Linked DNA regions of Homo sapiens: region 1 is linked to region 2. The links are contacts of gene promoters, found by promoter capture Hi-C in human tissues and cell types (Jung and others, 2019). All regions are on one chromosome and are shown on one strand. Each heading gives the region's core, a stretch centred on a gene start or on the middle of the fragment in contact. The rest is flanking DNA. Distances are from core to core; before and after follow the strand shown. Region 1 has its middle 120 kb from the start of DHX35. Region 2 holds the start of FAM83D (family with sequence similarity 83 member D).

Region 1 (6,412 bases), core at 2,736-5,235, 160 kb after region 2:
ACAAACAAACAAAAAAAAACTGAAGCTGGAGAGGTCATACTTTCCTGGGATGTTCCCATGCTTAGAGAAATTGATGGAGCTTAGTCTGGAGTAGAGGGTGTCTGGAGACCAAAATCTATATTAGTTTCCTAACGTTGTAAAAAAATCACAGTAAACTTAGTAGCTTAGAACAACACCAATGTATTATCTTACAGTTCTGGAGGTCAGAATTCCAAAGTGGGTCTTATGGGCTAAAATCAGGGTGTCATAGGGCTGTGTTCCTTCTGGAGGCTCTAGAGAAGAATCTGTTTCCTTCTCTATTTTAGTGTCTAGAGCCTTCCTTTGCCCATGCCCCTCCATCCATCTTCAAAGCACATCATTCCAACCTCTGCTTCCGCAGTCATGTCTTCAGACCTATGTGGGCTGCGTGTCTGAGGGAGGCAGCCCCTTCCTGGAGCCCTGGAGAGCCTTGCTGAGAAGAATTCGAGGATCTTACAGGAGGCAGATATTAGCTGATACTGAGAAGAGATTTCTAAAAAGCATTCTTGCCCAGGGCTAGGCTGGGTTGTGTAGGGATTTGACCATGGGAGGGAGTAGCTGAGATGGATGAAGGTGGAGGTCCCTGGAGATGGGGAGGTAGGGGATGCCTGACAGCCAGGATGATGGATGGGTTGTCTAGGTGCAAGGCGACTCTCTTAGGACGATGCTGGCTATTGGGTGAACAGGAGCCTGAGCAGTGGCCAAAGTCTTCAGTGTGTGAGGGGATGTGGCCAGGAGGTCAGAGGCTGGGAGAGACAAGGAGAGAAGGGTGGTAGATGGGGCCAGCTGCATGGGCGTGCTGCCAGGGCAGTCCCACAGGCTTGGAAGAGCCCCGTGCTTCATGGTCGCTGTCTTGAAATTCTTCACGATTTTATACTTGAATTTGTGTTACAATGGAGAGTGTGTGCCTCTGCCTGTCATTGCCTCCCCAGGGCAGGCACCCACACCCTCACCCCCTGCCACTTGGTCCTGTTCTGATGCACACTTTTTTTCCTATTGACTGAATGATGCACACTTTAAAACTGGGTAATTGAGAGCAGTTTAATGAAGGGGCCATTTATATTCATGTAGGCAGAGGGAGGGAGTCACAAGGGATGAGGTGGTGTCCCGAGCTAGCAGCTGTAGGGAGCCTTTAGCATCTCCAGGCAAAGAGGCAAGGGGCTGGTGGTTACCAGCACTCAGAGCGGGAGTTGTGTGGAGAGAGCTCCTTGGGTAGAGGGACACAGCCAACCCATGGTCACCCACAGGGACCCTGCAGAGCAGGAGCCAGAGGATGAGTCCTCAGCCTCATCCTCCCTCCTTCAGGTCTCCTGCCAGTGCTGTCTAGTTCAACCAGGAGCCAGAGGGCAGGCGGTCCATAGGTCATCCTCTCCGGCCACCTAGCAGTGGGAGGAGGCTCTTGAGTGGACCTGGAGGGGCCAGGGGGCTACTGGTGGGGGTGGAAAATTCTGAAGAGAGTCAGGTTGGGGGGACGTGCCCAGTTTAGGCCTGGCCTGGTGATTCGAGGTGCATGGAGAAGTCTGGGAAAAGCTGGAGTCAGGATGGGAGGGCCTTCAGCATTTTGGTCGGGTCCCTACCAGCCTTGCACACCCAGGTTGGAGCAGACCCAGATGTGGAGGGGGGCTTGGGAGCCTTTGCAAGTCTGTTCTGTAAAACTCACTTTCCATTTTGCCCGGGAGGAGCAGCTGCTGGCTGGGAAAGGCTTACCCTGACCCCAACCACCTGCTCCCTTTTCCCAGTCAGGGCTTTCGCCCCAGCCCCAACCCCGGGGGTGGGTAGTTTTGTCTTTCCCTTGGCCCCTGGCTGGCCTGGCCAGCAACAGCTCTGTCTCCTGCTGTCAGGCCACCAGAATGTGACAAGTGGCAGATGGGCCTCTGATCAATGGACCCCATCCCCAAGCAAGGACAGTGGGGCTGGGGGCAGGGTGGGGAGCGGCCGCTAATGGATGGGCCTGAGAGCAGTGACGGATGGGCAGAAAGAAGCTGCCATTTGTCTTGGAAGTGAGTGACTCCAGGGAGGAGGAGAAGGGAGGGTGGCTGTTGGGCTCCAGGGTGGAGAGAAAGCAACCGGAGCCAAAGCCCAGCAGGGCTGGGAGGATGGGGCCTGAGGGTGCCCTGGATGGGATGGGATTGGGAGAAAGGTTTTTCCTACCTACCTTTAACTAGAGCTCTTCAGTCCTAGCCAAGAGGGTCCTGACATGTTGAGTGGAAGATCCAGGGGCATCCTGTAAAAATGGAAACTAGATCATGCTCTCACCTGGGTCTCATTCAGGGTGAAGTCCTATCCTTGCATGATTCTCCTTTAAGACCCTCCACGGTCTTCCTCACCTTCTCCTTTTCCTCCCTGACCTCACCTCTCATTACCCTCCTCGCTCATGCCTCTCAAGACAATTTACTTTCTTGTTCTTAAAGGTCTCTAGGCCTTTGCCCCAGCAGTCCCCTCTACCTGGAATGCTCTTTCCCCAGATATCGGCACAGTATTTATTTTTTGAGACAGAATCTCACTGTGTCACCCAGGCTGGAGTGCAGTGGAGCAGTCTTGGCTCACTGAAACATCTACCTCCTGGGTTCAAGCGATTCTCATGCCTCAGCCTCTTGAGTAGCTGGGATTACAGGCGTGGGCCATCACACCTGGTTAATTTTTGTATTTTTTGTAGAGATGGGGTTTCACCATGCTGGCCAGGCTGGTCTTGAACTCCTGGCCTCAAGTGATCCACCCACCTCGGGCTCCCAAAGTGCTGGGATTACAGTTGTGAGGCACCACGCTTGGGAGGATATCTGCACAGTATTCTTATGTCCTGAAGGTCAGGTGTCAGGGCAGCCTTCCCTGGGCACTCCTTATAAACAGCAATGTCTCCCTGCCCCATGACCCCGTCTCCATCTGGTATACATTATCACTCCACCTCTGCCTTGTTATTTTAAAATTATTTTGTAACAGCCACCATCTGAAATGTCATTTATTTGTTTACTGTCTAAGGTCTGTCTCTTCCACTAGATTGTAGATTCCATGAGGACAGGGCGTTGTCTCTTCTCTTTGCTGCTCTATTTCCAGAGCTTAGAATAGCACTCAGATGGGCTCAACAAATACTTGTTGCATGCATGAATGAAAGGGTTCTAACTCCAGTTTTGATGCTTCCTGGCTTTGTGAGTTTGAACCATCTCCTGAGCCTCAGCGTCCTCATTTGCAAAGGGAGGGGGACTGTCCTTCTTCCCAGAGCCCCTGTGAGGATTATGCAAGACAATGTGCATCAGCCAATGCCCATATTTTAGAGAAGTCTAGAAGGCCTGGGACTTGTTGAGGTTGGAAAAGAAAACTGCCTCATATCTCCATTCATCCAGCCAGTAACAAATTCTCAAAGTAAGATAAGACCTGGGTCTAAGGATAAAATTAAGGATGTTGCTGTAAGACCCCTTGTTAAACCCTCTGAAAGACTTAAGGTGGTACTAGCAGACCCTTTAGCTAGACACTGTGGTTTCTAAGACTCTTAAGGGTCCAACAGGAGGGAAGAAGAGAAAGAGAAGCCTGTTTCAACTGAAATGAACCTCAGTCAGATGCATAGAAAACCCATAACATTTTCAAGATATCTGTATCAGTGAAAACACTGTAAGTGTGTACAAAAAGTGACTGCAACTTTTCAAAATAAAAACAGGCCTCTGAGTCTCCAATTTTCTAAGAGCAGAAAGGCTGAAAAAAACTATGTAGCTATAAATATCAGCCATTTCTTATGCAAACAGAAGGATGATTAGGAGAGGAGAACCAAGAGTCCAGAGAGGAAAGTTAAGAGCCATAGAGAACAATGGACTAGGGAATCACTCCAAGGAAGCAGAATTGGACCCGAATCAAGGGCTGTTCCCTGCCCCTGGAAGCAGAGGGAATTGACAACCTGTGCTTTGCTGGATTTTGATGTTTCTATGAACCAGGGACCACTAAGTACCTCCGGTTCCTCCCCTTTTTGTCTGGGAATGCCTATTGCGAATATCCTGTCCCTTTTTCATCTTTATTTATTTATGTTTGAGACAGAGTTTCGCTCTGTTGCCAAGGCTGGAGTGCAGTAGTGCAATCTCAGTTCACTATAACCTCTGCCTCCTGGGTTACAGTGGTTCTTGTGCCTCAGCCTCCTCAGTAGCTGGGATTACAGGCAGGCACCAGCACGCCCAGCTAATTTTTGTGTTTTCAGTAGAGTTTTCTCCATGTTGGCCAGACTGGTCTTGTACTCCTGGCCTCAAGCGATCCACCCACCTTGGCCTTCCAAAGTGCTAGGATTACAGGCAGGAGCCACACTGCATCCGGCCCTCTTTTTCATCTTTATATGTTGAGTATGGGGGTGAGTAGTAGGAGCTGCACCTTATGAAGCCCATCTGCCTCTGTCCCTGATTCAGAAGTGCTATCAACTGAATTGTCTCTTCCCAAAGTCATAGGTTGAAGCTGTAACCCTCAATGTGACTGTATTTGGAGTTAGGCCTTTTAGGAGGTAGTTGAGGTTAATAAGGTCATAATAGTGGGGTCTTAATCTAATAGTATTGGTGGCCTTAGAAGAGGAAGAGAGAAATCTCTCCCTTGCTTCATGGACACGAACCAAGGAGGGCCATGTGAGGACACAGCAAGAAGGTGGCTGTCTGCAAGCCAGGAAATGAGCCCTCACTAGAACCTGACCATGCTGGCACCTGGATCTTGGACTGCAAGCTCCAGAACTGAGAAAATAAATTTCTCTTGTTTAAGCCCCCCAGTCTATGGTATTTTGTTACGGCAGCCTGAGCTAAGACAAGAACTCAAGGTTCTGAACATGAAGCTATAATGGCATGAGACATTTTGTGGGAGGGGAGAATGAGCATATTTTGAATGTGGAAGAAATGAAAGTAATTGTAGCAGAGAGTGGACCAAAATAAGCTTAAAAACATGGCCACAATATTTTTTAGTCCCTTCCATTAAAAAATAGTCTACTTTCCTAAGCTGCCTTGTCATCTGCATTGACATGCAGAATGTGGTGGAAGTGATATCAGTAAGCTCTAGAGTGTGGCAAAATGTTAAAAACAACCCAAATGGCCATCATCAGGGGGCTGGCTAAATAAACAATGATGCATCTATATCTGGAATGCCTCAGCACTAAAACAATGCCTCAGAGCATTAAAAACAATGAAGTGGATCTGTTTCTATCAAGATGGTAGTATCTCCAAGACATATGGTCAAGTTATGAAAACAAGTTGCTGAATGATAACTTCAAGTAAGATACCATTTATGTTAAAATATAAGTTCATGAAAAGATACCATATATAGTTGTCCCTTGGTATCCACAGGGTATTGGCTCCAGGATACCCCTTGGATTCTAAAATCAATGGATGCTGAAGTCTCTGATATAAAATGGCATAGTATTTGCATACAACATATGAACATCCTTTTGTGTACTTTTTTTTTTTTTTTTTTTTTGAGACAGAGTCTTGCTCTGTTGCCCAGGCCGGAGTGCAGTGGTACAATCTCGGCTCACTGCATCTTCTGCCTCCCGGATTCAAGCGATTCTCCTGCCTCAGCCTCCTGAGTAGCTGGGATTACAGATGTGTGCCGTCATGCCTGGCTAATTTTTGTATTTTTAGTAGAGACTGGGGTTTCACCATGTTGCCAGGCTGGTCTTGAACTCCTGACCTCAGGTGATCTGCCTGCCTTGGCCTCCCAAGGTGCTGGGATTACAGGCATGAGCTACCGTGCCCAGCCCTTTTGTATACTTTTAATAATTTCTAGGTTACTTATAATACCTAATACAATGTAAATTCTATATAAATAATTGTTATACTATTTATATTATTTATAATTTTTATTATTTATATTTATATGATTTATATTTTAATTTTGCATTGTTATTTTGTATTTTTTCTGAATTTATTCAGTCAGTGGCTGGTCGAATCCATGGGTGTGGAGTCCAAAGATATGGAAGGCTGACTGTATTTTCCTGTACATAGTGAGTGTGTGTGTTTTTATGTTTGTGCCTGCACACATACACTCGTGTGTGCGTAAGATCATTAGAATAAAATAATAAGTTCTACTCAATAACCCCTTCCAGAATCTGGCCTGGGGTTGACATTATTCTCCCTGGCCCTTGGTTAGTGGAAACCACAGCTTCTTCTCCTCTGAGGGTGCTTCCCTTGAGTCTAGGGTGATTCCTTTATGGCCCTGGGTGCTGTCATTGGTTCTTCCTGCCACCATGGCTGCCAGTTCCTTCTCCTTACTGTCCCTTCTCCCTCTGCAGCTGGAAGATCATTCTCGTTGATCCAGAAGGCACAGGTGCTCCCAAGCTGTGGCGTGTGTGGGTCCCTGCTATCCGTCATTGGCAGGACTTCAGCGTCAGCCTAGGCCTCCATTCCTTAGGAGCTTCTTGCCATTGTGTCACTAAAATGTCACATTG
Region 2 (7,061 bases), core at 177-2,676:
CTGAGATTCTATGCTGCAAAAATAAGAAGTGAGATGGGGAGCTTTAGAGGAATGTAGGGTCAAGAGAGGGTTGTTTTAAGATGAAAAATATTTCAGCATGCTTGTAGGCTGATAGAAATGAATCGGTAAAGAGGGAAGCTGATGTTCCAGGAGAAAGAAGAAGATTGCTGGAGCGATGCTGGTGAGTAGTAGAGGGGCTGGAAATGCCCAGGCAGAGGGGTTGGGGTTGGATGGGCACAGGCACAGTTCATCAATGCCCAGTATACGGGCAGAGATGCAGACAGGAAGGTAGACTAGATGGCCGCACGTGGACGTTCCCTTCTTACTGTTTCTGTGTTCTTGCTGACATGGAAGACAAGCTGTCAGAGAGGAAAAGGTAGAGAGAATGAGGGAAATGCGGCCTACCAGGCAGTTTTTTTGTTTGTTTGCTTTTGTTTTGTTTTGTTTTGTTTTTAGATGGAGTTTCGATCTTGTCGCCCAGGCTGGAGTGCAGTGGTGCTATCTCGACTCACTGCAACATCCGCCTCCCGCGTTCAAGTGATTCTCCTGCCTCAGCCTCCCGAGTATCTGGGATTACAGGCGTACACCAAGACACCTGGCTAATTTTTGTATTTTTAGTAGAGACGGGGTTTCACCGTGTTGGTCAGGCTAGTCTCAAACGCCTGACCTTAGGTGATCCGCCCTCCTCGGCCTCCTAAAGTGCTGGGATTACAGGCGTGAGCCACCGCGCCCGGCCTCCTAGCAGGCAGTCTTACGGATTATGAATTTAAAACATGACCAGTCAGTAAGCATGGTTACGCTCTTTTTGTTTTTTCTTCAGCCCTGTAGGGCTGCCGGGGTGCAGGTGGAAAGTAGGGTATAACCACGGTTGGTTGGGGTTTTACAAGGCAAAAATCGATGAAATGAGAGAAGACTACCCGAGGGTGTAATCAAAGGAGCAGTCCTAATACGATGAGCCGGTATTCTTTGAATGAATGAATACATGGTTAAAGGCAGGTGATAAAGGCGATATGGTTGGCCATGCCAAAGCACTGAGAGCCTAGGAGCAGCGTGGCCAGAGTCTCCGGGAGTCGGCACCTGCCTCTCCTCGTTGTCTAGGCCTGACTGTCCCTGGCCTTGCACGGCCGCGCAGCGGGGCGACCGGCAGGGGGCGCGCTGGGATGGCCAGGAGCTCGGCTCTCCCCGCTCTGTCCCTGCTCTGCGGCCCGCCTCGCCCCTGCAAGTTTAAATTCCTCTTAGCAAGCCCAGCATCGCAGCCAATAACGCATCAGGGGGCGGAGCCGTAGAGGCTTGCGCCCCGCCTCGCTCCGCTATTGGAAGGAAAGCAGCCAATGGGAGAGCCGAGGCGGGGAGGTGCGGCCAATGGCGCGGGCCTGTTTGATTCAAAGGTTGCCTATAAAGCGGGACTGCACGCCGGTTTTTGTCCGAGGGCTGTCGAGTCCGAGCGCCGCCATGGCTCTGCTGTCCGAGGGCCTGGACGAGGTGCCCGCCGCCTGCCTGTCGCCGTGCGGGCCGCCCAACCCGACCGAGCTGTTCAGCGAGTCACGGCGCCTGGCTCTGGAGGAGCTGGTGGCGGGCGGCCCCGAAGCCTTCGCGGCCTTCCTGCGACGCGAGCGCCTGGCTCGTTTCCTGAACCCCGATGAGGTGCACGCCATTCTGCGCGCGGCGGAGAGGCCGGGAGAGGAGGGCGCGGCGGCGGCGGCGGCGGCCGAGGACTCGTTCGGCTCCTCGCACGACTGCTCTTCGGGCACCTACTTCCCCGAGCAGTCGGACCTGGAGCCACCGCTGTTGGAGCTTGGCTGGCCCGCCTTCTACCAGGGCGCCTACCGCGGCGCCACGCGTGTCGAGACGCACTTCCAGCCCCGCGGCGCTGGCGAAGGTGGCCCCTACGGCTGCAAGGACGCTCTGCGCCAGCAGCTCCGCTCGGCGCGAGAGGTGAGCGGCCCTCCAGGGCCCTGGGTCGCACGGGAGACCCCCTTCAAGAATGGGAAATTGAGGCCTGCTGGGAGTACGGGCCGGGGCCACTACCTCCTCTGCGCCCTACCGGAAGCGCGCGCGGGCTAGGTGGTCCCAGGGTCTCCGACTCACACCCCACTCTGCGTGTCTCCCCCGGATCCCCCGGGCCGCTCCTCGTGGCAGGGGATAGTGGGAAAGCCTCGGTTCCCAAGGATGCGAATTGTGCCCGGGTTCCATCTCCTAACGTTCATATCCCTGAAGGAGGGACCAGAAGTACTCTGAGTTCCAAATTTCAGTTAAAATCAAACTTGGAAAATTGCCTATTTCCCTGTCTGTCAGCCAACGCTAGATCCCACTTTCAGGAGCTTCTTAGGAGACTCATTACCAAAGAACTTACGCAGGGAAAGTTCCAGAAAGATGGTCTCCAGAGACAACTACGGGGCATTAGGAAGCAATTATTATTGCTAATTACTTTCATGCATCTTTTGCTGTAAAAAGCAGATAAACACGAGAGTGGCAAAGTGAGAGCCCTGCCGCTTTTTCTTTCTTGTCTTTTTTTTTTTTTTTTTTTTTTGAGACAGATTCTCTTTTGCCCAGGCTGGAGTGAAGTGGTGGGATCTCAGTTCACTGCAACCTCCGTCCCCCGGGTTCAAGTGACTCTCCTGCCTCAGCCTCCCAAGTAGCTGGGATTACCGGTGCCCGCCACCACGCCCGGCTAATTTTTGTATTTTTAGTAGAGACGGGGTTTCTCCATGTTGGCCAAGCTGGTCTCGAACTCCTGACCTCAGGTGATCCACCCGCCTCGGCCTCCCAAAGTGCTAGGATTACAGGCGTGAGCCACCGCACCCGGCCCCCTGCCGCTTTTTCTACTGCCAGAGACTGGAGGGGAAACTGGGGCAAGGGGTTTGTTTTCCATAGGCTGGGTCTGTGCCAGATTGCAGTGGTCTCCTAAAATGCAGATACATTTGCATTAGATCGGCTTCTGTATTCATAGTGGGTTTTGGTCCTACTGTCTGACTCTTAGTATGGCATGGTCATGGGTGCAATGGAGGTCTTGTCTGCTTGCCAGCCTCGATAAAGCTGCAGCAGGGTGCTGGGGATCAAGGAGGAAGAAGGCAGCCTGCAGGTGGGTGTGGCACATAGAGTGTCGTGGCAGACACCTTGGTCTGGAGCCATGGTCAGGTTGCTTGCTGACTGGCAGTGCCCAGCTCCCTGGCTATCTGCCTGTGCCAGGGACATGGCAGATAAAGCCCCAGCCATGTTAAGACTTGTTAGGGCTGGTACCTGAGTGTGTCTGAGTGTGGGTGAAGATACCAGTGCATTGTCAGGTTGACATGTCCAAGCCCCGACTCTCACCAATGTTCTTAATGTTCTTTCCCTGACTGGTGGGGTTTCAGTGGTAGTGGATACAGTGACCTAGTGCCTTGCCTTTGAGGGAGTGGTTGTGGGCTGCAGCTAGGCTCTTACCAGCCCTGAGGTGCTTTGGGTGGACTGAGGGTTTTTTGATGCAGCAGACATTTTCCTTGCGGGTTCAGTGAAAAGATTAAAAAGATGGAAAAGGCAGACTTGTGTAGGTATGCATCCCCAAAGCTCATGTCCAGTAGAACTTGAGCACTTGGAACCTGAAAAATGTAAAGAACTGGTCTGTATAGTGAGAGCTGTGGATTGTTCTAGTCTTTTGCCCAGCCCCAAATTTTAGTGATAGCAAAAGGGCACTGGAACTAGAGGCCAGAGGGAAACTATTAAACTCACGTGCTGGCGTGAGGAGGGGATGGAGCCAGGAGCTCAGACTCTCCCTCATCTCACGGGCATTTTGTAATACTGACATTTCCAGATAGAACCTGCTGCCCTAGTCTAGCTACCCACAGTTCCCTCCGAGATGCTGTATTTGGAACCTGGGCAGTTTTAACTGAGAAAGGTGGTACATTACCTTTAAATCCAATGAGTATTGGCTGGGCACAGTGGCTCAAGCCTGTAATCCCAGCACTTTGGGAGGCTGAGGCAGGCAGATCACGAGGTCAGGAGTTCGAGACCAGCCTGGCCAACATCGTGAAACCCCGTCTCTACTAAAAATACAAAAATTAGCTGGACGTGGTGGTGCGTGCCTGTAATCCCAGCTACTTGGGAGGCTGAGGCAGGAGAATTGCTTGAACCTGGGAGGTGGAGGTTGTAGTGAGCTGAGATCACACCACTGGACTCCAGCTCTGGGCGACAGAGCAAGACTCCCTCTCGGAAAAAAAAAAAAAAAAAAATCCAATGAGTATTTTCAGTGTGTCCGATAGATGCCAAATTATTTGCTTACTCATTGCCTGCTGTGTATCAGACACTACCATGGCTGGGGCCACAGGGGAAGGCATCATCCTTGCCAACACTTGAGAGTGGACAGTGTGCTGATGGGAAACAGTGAGGAGTTTGCTGCAGGTACTGCGGAAAGGGCTAAAGAAAGAAAGTCTCCGGAGTGGCAGTGACCTCAGAGCTGGGTGGGGCTTGCCAGACCTAGGGTATGGGGGCTGGCCCACAAGTGTTTAAGGACCTGGAATGTTTGGGGGCAGCCAAATTCCCCACAGCGGGTTAGTGGTAGGAGAGGAAGCTGGGGTAAGGGATGCTGAAATGAGTTGGGTTTGAGACAGTGCTGAATTTGAGGTCCCAAAGACAATCTCTTTTGTTTAAAAAAAAAAAAAAAAGCCAGGCCATGGTATCATGTGCCTGTAGTCCCAGCTACTCAGGAGGCTGAGGCAGGAGGATCATTTGAGCCCAGGAGTTTGAGGCTGTAGTACACTATGACTACGCTGTGAATGGCTACTGCACTCCAGCCTGGGCAACACGGGGAGACCCTGTCTCTTTAAAAAAAAAAAAAAAAAAAGTAATGCTTTCTGTTTGCCAGGCACTGTTCTAGGTGATCCCAAGGAAGGTGCGATTATCATCTTCATTTTACAGCTGATAGAACTGAGGCATAGAGAAGTTAAGTGGCCCCGAAGTCATGCAGCTAGAGAATGAAGGAGCCTGTACTCAAATTGAGGCACAGAATGTCTGAACCACTGTTAACCACCACACTCCCTGTGGAGGGTTCAGGAGCCTGTGCTCAGGTGGGGAGAGGTGACAGCAGATCTGGTGGCTAGCTAAGAGCTACTACTATTTATGGGCATGCATTGTGGACAAGGGAGTGGCTGTGTCACCTTGACCACATCCTTTGAAATCTAGTACCTGTGACAGCGAGGACCATGAAGGTGTAGGTCTCAGGCTGCTTTCAGGATGAAATGAGAAGCTGTTCTGCATCCGTGTTCTGATAGCAAAGGTACCTAATGGTGATATGATTGAGCACTTTGAATGGGTCAGTTTCTGTGCTAAACCCTTGACCTGAATTACCTCATTTAACCCTCCCAACACTGGGAGGAGGCTACAATTAAGAAAAGACCAGGCACAGAGAAGTTAAGTAACTTGCCTGAGATCACACAGTTAGCATGGGACAGAGCTGGGCTCAAGCCCAAGTCTGTCTAGTTCCAGCTCTGAAGCTCAAGTGTTTTTTTTTTGTTGTTTGTTATTATTTTTTTTAAGACAGAGTCTTGCTCTGTCACCCACGCTGGAGTGCAGTGGCATGATCTTAGCTCACTGCAACCTCCACCTCCTGGATTCAAGTGACTCTCCTGACTCAGCCTCCCGAGTAGCTGGGATTACAGGAGCACACCACCATGCCCAGCTAATTTTTTCTTTTTTTTTTTGGAGACAGAGTTGCTCTTTTGGCCCAGGCTGGAGTGCAGTGGCACAGTCTCAGCTCTCAGTAACCTCTGCCTCCCAGGTTCAAGCGATTCTCCTACCTCAGCCTCCCAAGTAGCTGGGATTACAGGCACCCTCCACTAATTTTTGTATTTTTAGTAGAGATGGGGTTTCGCCATGTTGGCCAGGCTGGTCTTGATCTCCTGACCTCGCGATCTGCCTGCCTCAGCCTCCCAAAATGCTGGGATTACAGGCGTGAGCCACTGCGCCCGGCCAATTTTTGTGTTTTTAGTAGAGATGGGTTTCGCCATGTTGCCCAGGCTGGTGTTGAACTCCTGGGCTCAAGTGATTCACCTGCCTTGGCCTCCCAAAGTGCTGGGATTACAGGCGTGAGCCGCTGTGCCCGGCCACTGAAGCCCACACTCCTAATCCCTGCTGCATACAGCCTCCCTGCCATGAGGAAGGATTGGAGCTTTGGTAGTTTTCAACAGGCTGAAGGTTTGTAACAGTTGAAGATTGGGACTTTTTAATTTCCATGTTGCGTATTCTATAAACAGGAAAATGACAATGACTAGACCTGTCCTTTTCAGGAAGAAAACGAGGTGGTCAGTTTTTAGAGTAGGAGGCATTAAGGCTGGCAGAGAACCTCCTCAACCCATCAAGTGGGGAAGGTGGTTCATGATGCCAGGAGAACATAGGTCTCTGAGTTTAGGTTTTGTAAACTAGAGTGTGTTTTCCTCTCCCTGGGAAAGATAGAGCCAGATAGATGTTTCTGGTACCTGGAGCAGAGGGATCTGTGAGAATCTTTTGGTGGGTGAATGAAGGAACTTTGAATGCCACATGAAGGGTCCCACTTAACCCCAGAGGTTGGGGCCAGGCTGCAGTAGAGCACGGTCGAACCTCAGTGTTCGCTCCATGCAGCTTTATCTGCCTTCACTGAGGTGGTCTGAGGACCACCCTGCATCTTCAGGAATGTCTCTGGAAGGAGCCAGGATACGAGGCTCCTTGACCAGAGTATAGGCACAGGAAGCCAGGGTTACTTGGTAAATGGTAGGGCCTAATCCTGGCTTTGCAGCCTGAAGCGCTGGTTCTGGGATAGGTTTTATCCAGCAGCTCTCTGACCACACAGAATCACTCAGTGTGTCTGATACATAAAAGATGCTCAGTAAATACTGTAGGGGCCTATTATGTGCACCTTTGCTCATTCAGCTACATGCTTTGAGGAGAAATAAAGGGCAGGGGGAAGGGAGCGGTAGATAGGAAGAAAAGTAGTTCAGGTGATTCTGTCTGCCTTTCCACTCAGCAAGTATTTGTCCCTGGGTGGCTGTGCCTGGGGTTTGTGAATCTGCCAGCCCCTTCCTTGACTCTTGTTTCTATATACCTTTCAAAGT

Evidence for each region. The method cuts DNA at HindIII sites, captures the fragments that hold promoters and counts their contacts. A contact is called where the count stands out against the background at its distance.
Region 1: a fragment that was not itself captured here is called in contact with the fragment with the promoter of FAM83D in region 2 in 2 of the 25 tissues and cell types used here (liver and stomach).

Annotation. Positions count from the first base shown.
Region 1 is chr20:39,082,081-39,088,492 of GRCh38, forward strand. No RefSeq gene overlaps it. Among named protein-coding and RNA genes, the nearest start is that of DHX35, 120 kb to the left of the region's middle. The HindIII fragment of the contact is 4,162 bases long and covers 1,905-6,066 here.
Region 2 is chr20:38,924,991-38,932,051 of GRCh38, forward strand. It overlaps FAM83D (family with sequence similarity 83 member D), which reads left to right and starts at 1,427. Exons shown (of 4, transcript NM_030919.3): 1 at 1,427-1,935. The coding sequence starts at 1,453. RefSeq lists a silencer at 1,045-1,404 and enhancers at 1,515-1,614, 3,000-3,089. The HindIII fragment of the contact is 31,187 bases long and covers 1-7,061 here.